3 separate regions of the Homo sapiens genome follow, and all the other regions are linked to region 2. The links are contacts of gene promoters, found by promoter capture Hi-C in blood cells and fetal thymus (Javierre and others, 2016). All regions are on one chromosome and are shown on one strand. The core of a region is centred on a gene start or on the middle of the fragment in contact, and the rest is flanking DNA. Distances in the headings are between cores, read along the strand shown.

The links. Contacts are between HindIII fragments. The CHiCAGO score rates a contact against its expected background, and 5 or more counts as called.
Region 1: a fragment that was not itself captured here is called in contact with the fragment with the promoter of CNN3 in region 2 in 6 of 17 cell types (naive B cells, activated CD4 T cells, naive CD8 T cells and 3 more); the score reaches 7.6 in naive B cells.
Region 3: a contact is called between a fragment that was not itself captured here and the fragment with the promoter of CNN3 in region 2, in 1 of 17 cell types (total B cells). The highest score is 6.2, in total B cells.

What each region holds. Positions count from the first base shown.
Region 1 is chr1:95,236,710-95,239,961 of GRCh38, forward strand. The region is part of intron 7 of TLCD4-RWDD3 (TLCD4-RWDD3 readthrough); the gene reads left to right. All of the region lies in intron 1 of RWDD3 (RWD domain containing 3), which reads left to right. Among named protein-coding and RNA genes, the nearest start is that of RWDD3, 4.1 kb to the left of the region's middle. The HindIII fragment of the contact is 1,601 bases long and covers 862-2,462 here.
Region 2 is chr1:94,925,130-94,928,588 of GRCh38, forward strand. It overlaps CNN3 (calponin 3), which reads right to left and starts at 1,981. Exons shown (of 7, transcript NM_001839.5): 1 at 1,709-1,981. The coding sequence starts at 1,765. CNN3-DT (CNN3 divergent transcript) reads left to right here and starts at 1,231. Exons shown (of 3, transcript NR_168377.1): 1 at 1,231-1,611. RefSeq lists silencers at 1,089-1,518, 1,619-2,498. The HindIII fragment of the contact is 4,662 bases long and covers 1-3,087 here.
Region 3 is chr1:94,421,628-94,425,102 of GRCh38, forward strand. The region is part of intron 1 of ABCD3 (ATP binding cassette subfamily D member 3); the gene reads left to right. Among named protein-coding and RNA genes, the nearest start is that of ABCD3, 5.0 kb to the left of the region's middle. The HindIII fragment of the contact is 5,695 bases long and covers 1-3,475 here.

The DNA.
Region 1 (3,252 bases), core at 412-2,911, 310 kb after region 2:
CTTCTGCCTGAGGCAGCTATTTGAAGAGATCATCAGTTTTCCTAAATTCCTTTATTATGGCTCAGTTGGGAATATCCTGGAAAAATGAACCTGCAATTTCCCATCACACCTTAAAGAACTGGTAATGGTCTGGGTCATTAGTACACAGCTGAGCATAAAACACTGCTGAAGGGTCAGAGAAAACCCAAAAATGTAAGCATAGAAAGAAAACAGTTTCTTAATCTTGAGAACACTGTGAACCCTTTATCTGCTGTTAAATTGAGCATGACTTTCAAGCCATGCCTCCTAATTAGTTTAATTCCATGTTCTGGCATCAATAAGTAATTGAATTATAAAAGAATTCAGTGTAACAACTTAGGACATTTTGTTGCTGAGAGGTAGAATAATTCAGTGATTGAAATGGGGATGTTTGATGTTCACAAGTGGGAATTAAGGGGGTAAGGTAAAGGCCTTTTTTTTTTTTCCCATGATTTTCGTAACATCTTTTTACAAAGTAAGGACTTCTTTAACAGACCACAGTAAACATGCAGCAGACTGCTGGCTACCACTCACCATCACTGTCAGTTTGGGTTGGAGGATACACACTTGATACCAGAACACTCTAAACACTAGTTCTTTTCTGGCCTCCCCCAAATAAGGTTCTCCCTTTTGCCACTGGAATCAGGAGAATGTTGCAGAGGAATTGCATTCCTGGTAACAAGATAACCCAGCAAGACTCAGACTGCTAACCCAAGGATCAACTATTAAGGCCGTAAGATTGAAGAAGCTAAATAATTGGATTCCATTTAGCTGGACTAATTTTATGCTGAGAATTTCAGGGGATTTTATCTGCCTTTTGATCTCTTTACAATGGTTATAGTAAGCTTCTAGTAAGAGGCATAACCATCTCTTAGGGGTGCAAATTAAGTAAGTCCCTACACTCCCATCTACAAGGGAGGGCTGTGGATAGACCACATTAGGGATATTCTGTTTTTCTGTATGCATTGTAGTCAGTCCAGGTGCCAGATTTGATGGGGTGACCTGCCATGTACGTGATACTTGAAATGCATCTTACTTGATGAGGGGTACTATTGGTCTTACTTCACAGAGAAGATAACTGATACTCAGACTGGTTAAATAACCACCAGGCTCCAGGTGTATGGGCCTTTGCACTGCATCATGCTCCTTAATAGAGAGATGGGGCTGTTGCATCAGGAAAATAGTTCTTGGAAAGCAAGGAAATACTTGTGCAGAAAGAGCGATAATGAGCACCCAGAGAAAAGATATGAGTGTGAGCCAACTTATGTTCAGAACAATCCCAAAGGGGAGTGTTTGTGCATGTATGTGTGGATCTATGAGAGGCGTGAGATTGGTATTGTATCACCATTTTCCTGATGAGGAAATTGAGTGACACAGATTATGTGGCCATAGTCAATGTTCGTTATATGTGGGAGTTGTGCTTCTGGAAAGAATCTTACAGATAAAAAAGTTGTAAGATGGGAGAACCCAATATCATGTAATAGGTTTTCACAGAAGCTGCAGAGTGAATTTTTGTATTTTAGCAACACTAATGTTCAAATTAGTTTGGGCCTTCTTATAAAATGAATCATGACTGTCACACATTGACCCCTCTAAATCTGCTCAGCTCGGTTTTATGCTGATTGTCAGTATTGAGCTGACTTCTATAAAACCGATGAGATTGCTACTTTTAGCTTCATTTATTTTTAGTTTTTTTTTTTTTCTTCTGAAGCTACATTGAAACTTATGTAAAAATCCAACTGAAGCATAAAACAAGCACTGGTGTATGCTTGCCTGGGAGCTGCCTGGGAGCAAGAGGAGACAGTCTTGTCTTACCAAGTATGAGAGGGTGCTGAAGGTTTCTTGGTGGTTTTCTTCAAAGTTGTATCTTGAGGATATATAACAATTGCAAAGAAAAAAAACACAAGTGTAGGGAAGGTCAGATGTATATGGTATGTAAACAATTTCTTAATGGGCTCTTAGTGAATCCTGAAAAACCCATTCTCTTAAATTTTACCTTTTTTTAAAAATGTCTTCTGTTATTTGACTGCATTTATAGAGTTTCTGTTGTGTGTTGTATTTTATTAAGTAGAATGAAACCTTAAAAATAGCATTAGTGTGAATTTGGAGTTCTAAAAGTTTAAGTTTCTCTAGTTTGAATTTCTGTTTGGAATGTGTTTAGGAGCTTACTTTCTGATGTTTGTAAGGAAGCATAAGGTTTGAAACCTGTTTCAGTTTGTGTTTTAGGTATGAAAATGATACACTTACTATAAGACAGAATGATTTGGTTAGAAACAACAAGTAGTCAATTTGTATCAACTTGAACAAGAGGGCAAGACCCTTTTGGTAGGGTCTTTAGAATACATGAAAACACCCTTGGACTTATGGAGATTTTAGTTTTCTGGGGCAAGCCTTAAGTTTTCTAGGGCATAGATGTTTGTTGAGAATGATCAGTTTGTGAATTAAGCTTATTAACTAAGGTTCTGGGGGGCTAAGGAGGGGCAGAGATTAGTATTAGATTTAGAGCATAATTATTTTTCTGCTAATCACTGTTTCTAAGCTGTTAATAACCTTAAAGCAGATAGGGGCAACTTTGTTTTCTTTTTTATTATGGCAAAAAAAGAAAACAAAAAATCAGACTTACAGTGCATGTGTCATATGAAAAATTCTGAGGCAGAAAGGAGCCAGTTTAATTGCTTGTACAATGTCAAGCAGATGAGATATGGAAGAGTACAATACATACTTCTAGAGTTTTTGGGAGAAAATGAGTTTTTAAAAGTATGTAATTTTATTGCCACATTAAATACCAGAAGAATGGAGTATGTTATTGGGCTTTTCAGTTTCTTGTAGAGATGACAGTATCATTTTGTATAATCTTATTTTGCAGCTACAGTGTATGTGTGGGTGGGCAGGGGGATTTACCAAGACCAATTAGGAAGAATGCTAATCCTTTCCAATTCTTAAAAGAACTAAGGCAGTTTTCTTCCGAACATATAACTAGTATGACGGTCACAGTTTTCTAAGGTGAAAGTCAGGAGTTTCACCCATTGCTATTCTGTTTGCTGACTAGGACCAGAAAATAACACAGAGAAAAATGAAAATTGGTAAGGACTGACATGGCTGGCTCAGTAGCTTTTCAAGACTTTCCCCCTGGACTACCAACATGTTTCTTTCCTGTGGTTCCCTGCACCAGAGAGGACCCGGTAGGTGTTTATATGGCACAGGTTGGAGAACACTGTGGGTCTCAGGGTTTTG
Region 2 (3,459 bases), core at 731-3,230:
TATTAACATCCAAGAAAAGTAAGTCACTTGAAGGGCTGCCAACGTTATCAGTACCTCATTTACAATGCAAAAGGTAGTAGAGACTCAACTGCTGCCAGCCAAGAATCACTGGGGGGAATTACAATGAATGTGCACAACCAGGCCAAAGTATCACATCACATCCAACATTTTGGACATGCCCATTCCTCTGAAGTTTCCTAAAGTTCGGTTTGTAAATCCTGGAAGGAAGGAAACAGTAACTTGTTACAAACTTTTCAGTTGGTGAGGTTTGCACTCAATCATACACAAACCATTCACCTTTCTGCTCTCTAAAAAAATTGTTAGCAAACTGTTGTCTAATACGGGCAACACGTTTGAAAAGGTAAAGGACCTAAACATTTCAACTTTAGATACATAGACTAAAATCAACTCCTTGCTTCAAAGACAGTATGATGTGCAGACTAACAGCGGGAGACAAGAGCCACAACTCTCCCTTGGGGTTTGACAACGGTGCGCTTCATTACCTCTTTACATAATTCGCTTCACACCGCCTACCCCCGCAGCCCCGGGATGTTCCAGCTCTGACAATGCCAGTGCCTTCCACCAGCGGTCGGACGGTGCGGTGGCAATCCTGACATGCTTGGGCTCCCGGGAGGTTAATGGGAATTAAACCACAGGCAGCCCTCCTTTGTGGCGCTTTGGCCAGAACAGCAGAAAGGAGACAATGAGCGTTCTGTGCACAGTTCCGCGCCGATTGGCTGGTCTCTCCCCCCAGAAACCCCTGATGTCATGGGCTTGGAATGCAGGGAGGGAGGAAGGAAGGAGAGGATTTGGGGAGGGGGACGCCTCTCATCTCTTTCCCAGGCCAAAAGTCCTAAAGATAAACCTAACGCATTCTTGGGCTCAGTGGCAAAGCTGAGCGTCACCAAATCCCAATCGCTCCAAACTATAAGCCGCCTCAGCAAACAAGCCCCAAACAAAAGCAACCCACAAAAATAATCCTTTATGTCGTGAAAGTCTAATGTACTTCAAACTTCTCAGTGTTTCATAAAAAGTCTCAAGCCTAAGCAGATATCACTCGCACAGTGGCGCGCTCAGGCTTTGTCTCCATTTCCCGCAAAAGCAACAGCAGAAGCAGCAGCAGCAATCTGCCTCCAAATGCCTCCCAGGCACCGAGATCGGAGACTGTGATGGGTCCCGGACCGGCTTCCGTTCCTCGGGGCCCCTGGGGTCGGCGGGACATTAGGCGGTCTCTCTCCCCGTGGGGAGGCGCGGAGTCCGCCAGCACCCGGGGCCCGGGCAGATGGCGGGGGCTGCGGCAGCGGCTCGCCGGGTCCCTGGCCGCGCAGACGGGCTCCGCCTAAGGGCGAGTGGCCACGCAGGAGCGCCCCCTTCCCGGAGGGCGCGTTCTGCAGTCACCAAACGGCCCCCGAGACCCCCGCAGCCGGAAAGGCTGGCGCCGCGGGACTCCAGGCGCCCGGGAACCCACCGCCAGCCACTAGTCCTGTCCCACGGCGCGGGAACAAAGCCAGGCGGGTGCCCGGGAGCCGGCCCCGCAAGCCCGGGGACTGGACGCGACCGGGACAGGCAGAGACGCTCGCGCCGCCTCGACGGCCCCTCTCCAGGAAAACGGTGAGCCACAGCGCGAAGAGCAAACGAAGCACGGCCCAGCGCCAGGCCAGCCCAAGGGTGCCCCGGGGGCCCCCGCGCCCGCCCGAGCCAGGCGTACCTTGTTCTTGACTTCGGCCGAGAGCCCATAGGAAGGGCCCTTGTTGAAGTGGGTCATGGTGGTTCGGGCGGCGGGAAGAGACAGCGCTGGGGTCCGGGGTCTCTCGCACTTCGCTTCCCCGCTCCTGGCCCCGAGGAGTGGCCGCCGCGGGGGATGCTCGAACTCCCTCCTCTGGGAGGCGCAGGAGACGGCCGCGGGGCGCGGGCGGTGCCTGGGCGACTGGGTCCAACTGGGTGCTACAGAGCCTCGAGCTCCGCTGCGAAGCACCCGGCTGCCTCGCTCGCCGCCCGCACCTCGGTTCCCCACAGGCCGCCCCCGCCTCCGCCTGGGCCTTCGAGGATTGGCCGCCGGGCCCGACCAATGGAGGGCCGCCTCCTCCCGCCTCTGCGCCGAGGGGCGGTGCGGCCAATTGAAGGGCCGCGGGGGCCGCTTTCCCTCCCGCTCCCTCCCCGCGAGGTCCCCGGCCCCCGCCCCAGCCCTCACGCCACCGGGGCCGGCGGCTAGGCGGCCCCGCCCCCGGGCTAGGCAGGGCGCCTGGGGGCTTCCCAGCCACAGGCCATTCACGTCAACCTCCAGGCATCCTCCGCGGCGGGCCGGACCGGGCCGGCGGAGGGGAGCGGAAGCCCACCGGGGCTGGCCCGCCGCTGACCCGCCGCCTCCGTCTGCCTCCTCCCGGGCTCTGGGCCCAGCGCGCCCAGATGCCGGGCAGGACCCCTCCGCCCGCTGCTGGAACACCAATAGCAGCGTTGGAGCCTCTGGGCCGGAGGAACTGGGGCCTCCACCGACACCTGCTTCTTCCCTCACCTCGCAGCCTTCCACACCTGTTGATCTGACCTCTGCCCCGCTGCCGCCCAGGAGTAACCTAAGGCTTTTGGCCTGATTCGAGCTCACTCCGTCTAAACCTCTAAATGCGGTGCGAAAAAATCCTGGGGAATGTGCCATGCAAAGCCTGGGCATTTCAAGTGCTTTTCTGGATTCGCATCAACTCCTCTTTACAGGCATCTTTATCCGGAATTCAGCTCGTCCCAAACCCCACGTGGTGTAGCTCTGCTTGTGTTTTTGAATCCCGGGGCCTCTTTGAATCAGAAGCCCTTTGTATAGAGATAAGTATCCTTTAGGCCAGAATCAGCCTCCATTTTTTTCGCAGTCCCATTTCCTACCCGTAATACTTTCTTCTGATTTTAAAGCCATTTGATAGAGAAGGGACAGGGAACAGAACCTTCGCCCCCCGCCTGAGCAGCTGGTAGACTAGATATCTTCCAAACATTATCTCATTTACTTCCCTGGAGTTACAAATAGGTAGATTTCATGTCCGTTGAGGGGTGAGAAAGCTGAAACTTTGAGACTTAAGAATCCTGGCCGAGGTCAGCCTCCTCCGAAGCTTCATCTCTTGCCACCACTTTCTGGTGCACACCTAGGACAGATTTCAATCCCTGAGATCCCAGGATGAAACCTATGTTTGCCAAATACCAGCTACTGTGCCAGAAGAGATCATGGAACCAGGTGTGGAAAGCTGCTTGAGAAGAGGAGCCAAAACATCATAGTTGAACCGTCCTGGAATAGAAGTGAGTAAGGTGAACCAGGTGTGGTGGCTCATGCCTGTAATCCTAGCACTTTGGGAGACCGAGGTGGGAGGATTGCTTGAGGCCTGGAGTTCAGGAACATCCTGGGCAACATAGCAAGATCCTGTCTCTACAAAAAATCCAAAGTTTTTTTAAATTAAAAAAAAAAAGTGAGTAAGGCAGCTTGAA
Region 3 (3,475 bases), core at 674-3,173, 500 kb before region 2:
TACCTTCTTGTTAGGGAAAAGAAACTTAAACACTGATAGCAGAATGAAATGTACAGATAGACATGTCTTAGAAGTTTTGAGAAAGACAAGATTAATGTGTTTGGGAAGGGTTGGGGAAGGCTTCATGAAGGATGTGTGTTAAGCCTAGAAAGGGGGTAGGAGTGGATAACTGGAATAAAGTGACTGTTACAGCATCCTTTATCAGATTTTTGTTGCATTTATGTTAGAAAGAAACTTTGTGGTGCCCTTTCAATCCATCTTCCACTGCCACCAGAGCTCTTTTTAAGAAGCTCAGATATGATCATAATATTCCTTCATTAAAATCATTAATCTACTCTAAAATACAAACTTTCTGTATTCATGGTGTGGTCCTTCCCTACTTTTCCCACTCATCCAACCATAAGTGCTGGGATTACAGGCATGAGCCAACTTGCCCAGCTGATACTTCTTTTTCTTCAAGACTCAGTCAACACTTTGTCTTAGGTGTTTTCTGTCTTTTTCTGATTTCCAAACTGATGTAAGTGTCCTCTGCTTTTATGATACTGTAGGCCAGGGGTCCCCAACCCCCGGGCTGTGGACTGGTACAGGTTGGTGGCCTGTTAGGACCCAGCTGCACAGCCTGTGCAAGCGAGCATTACCACTTGAGCTCCGCCTCCTGTCAGATCAGCAGGGGCATTAGATTCTCATAGGAGCGTGAACCTGTTGTAAACTGCACATGTGAGGGATCTAGGTTGCACACTTCTTATGAGAATCTAATGCCTGATGATGTGAGGCAAAACAGTTTCATCCTGAAACCATCCCCCAACTCAACCCCAATTTGTGGAAAAATCGTGTTCCGCAAAACTGGTCCCTGGTGCCAAAAAGGTTGGAGACTACTGCTCTAGGTATCCCCTACTCTAGCACTTACCATTCTGTATTGTACTAGTTTGTTTTCTTGGCTTTTGCCTACATCAGATCCTGAGTTTCTTGAGGGCATGAACTGAGTCATCTTTAATTCCCTAGTTCGGCTCTGTCATGGGTTAGACAGTGTTTATAGAGAGGATAAATGACATAGGATAGTTGAAGAACTTTTAAGCGTAATTGACAGGCATTTGGAGATGCCTAGTACAAACATGAATAGAAACATTCTTTTTGCAGAAGTAATAGTTGTGTACCTGAGCATATATAACCTGACCTGGGTAGTGGGAAATCAGTGGGCCAATTTTAGAAGGCAGGGAATGGTACCAGTCTGTATAGCCATAGTATTTTATTATCTTTAAAAAACAGAACAGAACAAAGCAGTTTCTTTCGCTTCTTATCAATGCTTGTCAAATAGAGTTCGGATTTCTCATCTTGGATTTCAGAGCCTCCCTCAATCTGGTCTTACTTTACCTGGCTAATCTTATATGCCATTGCCTGCCAATGGGTACTCTCTGTTCCAAATAGGACAGTTTCTACACTGTTCTTTGAACAGGCCACACTCATTTTTGGCTTTGGAGCTTTATTCATGCTGTTACTCATACCTAGAATATCTTTCTATGATATCCCTGTTCTCCAACTCTTGTCATCCTTGAAGGGTTAGGTCAGGGTCACCCTATCCATGAAGTGTTATTTAACTACTCCAGATGATCTAAATGATGATCACCTCTTTTAAAATTTCTGAAGCATGCATTTAAATACCTTTATTGTTTTATCTATTCATTGCTTGACTGGTTATAATCTAGCTAGGTCTACCAAAGTCCACCTGCTTATGGGGTGAGTTTCCTGCTTTTAAAAGCCCCCCTCTGTAAATGGTGGGAACACAGTTTCCTCTCCTAAATATTTCTCAGGAATTTCAGGGAGCTTGTGTTTCTTTTAGTGACATCTTACTTCGCTTCCTTTGGAGCACTTTCTGCTCTATTTTAGAAGGTACTTACATCTTGTCTCTTGAGCCTGTCTCTTTGGCGTCTGCCTTGATTTCTCTAAAGAATCAATCACAAAGCAGATATTTATAGTAGGGCTTTATTGAAAATTTGGGAGGAGTGGTAGGGATTATATCCCAGCATAGTGAACAGCTTAAAATGCTTTTATTTAGAAGTTTTTTGGACATTCCCACTGCTGGAAATTTCTTGACTTTTTTTTTTGTCCTGAGTCTCAGCCCTGTTGCCTGCTGCTGGGCCTTTCTTTACCCATTGGGTGTCCTTATATCTCCAGCTTCTTACTCCCTGCACTACGTTACTGCTAACCCCTCTACAACTTTCCTGCAAACTTCAAAATTCAGCTTTCCTTCCTTAAATCTGCCCCATTCAAATCAAGCTCTAGAAGGGGCTGGCTTCACTTTTCTCAGTTTCACAGGCGCACTGGGTGTTTTGCAAAGTGCAAGCATGAATCATGTGAGGGGCTAGAGCGGCTTGAGACCCTTACAGTTACCCATGAGTAGATGTTATATGGCCCCGTTTGGATCCTCAAAATAAAAAAGAGATGCTTAAGCAACCTTGGATGGAAAAAAAAGCATTGAAGAATTTGCCAGCCAAAGTAGCTGTGTACTGAACCCAACTGAGGCAGATCAGGCCCAGAGCAGTGTTCTGAGAACTGTGTAGCTGTCTGTGGTCTGCTAGGGGGAACTGAGTACAGGTTGTTTAATTAATTATATGTCCCAGTTACTGGCACATTCACATCCTTGGGTAGGCATTCTATTTCAAGGCTTTTGCTCTTGCTGTTTCCCCTGCCTGAAGTGCTCTTTCCTCAGATACTCACATTGCTTACTCTCCCCACTCTTTCAGTCTTTTTTCAGACATCCTTTTAGTGAGACCTTCTATTGCCATTCGATTTATTTTTATTTATTTATTTATTTTGAGACGGGGTCTCACTCTCTCACCCATGCTGGAGTGTAATGGCACCATCTTGGATCATTGCAACCTTTGCCACCCAGGCTCAAACAGTCCTCCTACCTCAGCCTCCCAAGTAGCTAGGACTACAGCCACACGTCACCACACCTGGCTAATATTTTTTGTAGAGACAAGGTCACGTTATGTTGCCCAGGCTGGTCTCGAACTCCTAGGCTCAAGCGATTCTCCCACCTCAGACTCCCAAAGTGCTGGGATTACAGGCAAGAGCCACTGTGCCTGGCCCCTGCCACTCAAAATAGCATCCTGTCTACCTTCCAGACTTTACTTTTCTCCTTAGCACTTATCACTATAAAATATGCTATATATTTTACATATTTATCTTGTCTGTTGTATATGTTTGCAGTATATACATACTGCTAGCATTTAAGTTCCACAAAGGCAAGAATTTTTGTCTATTTTATTCACAGTTATAGCCCCAGTGGCTAGAACTGTGGCTGGAATATATAGTAGACACTCATATTTGTTTGACTCTACAACAACAAATGAGATTCTCATTTTTTGGGGGCTGTGGTTACTATTGTTTTAAATAACACATTCTTTTTGCTACAAATGTAAATGTTGTCTTTAGTATATTTATGAGCTCTTTAGGAGCTGGACCACTTATACCC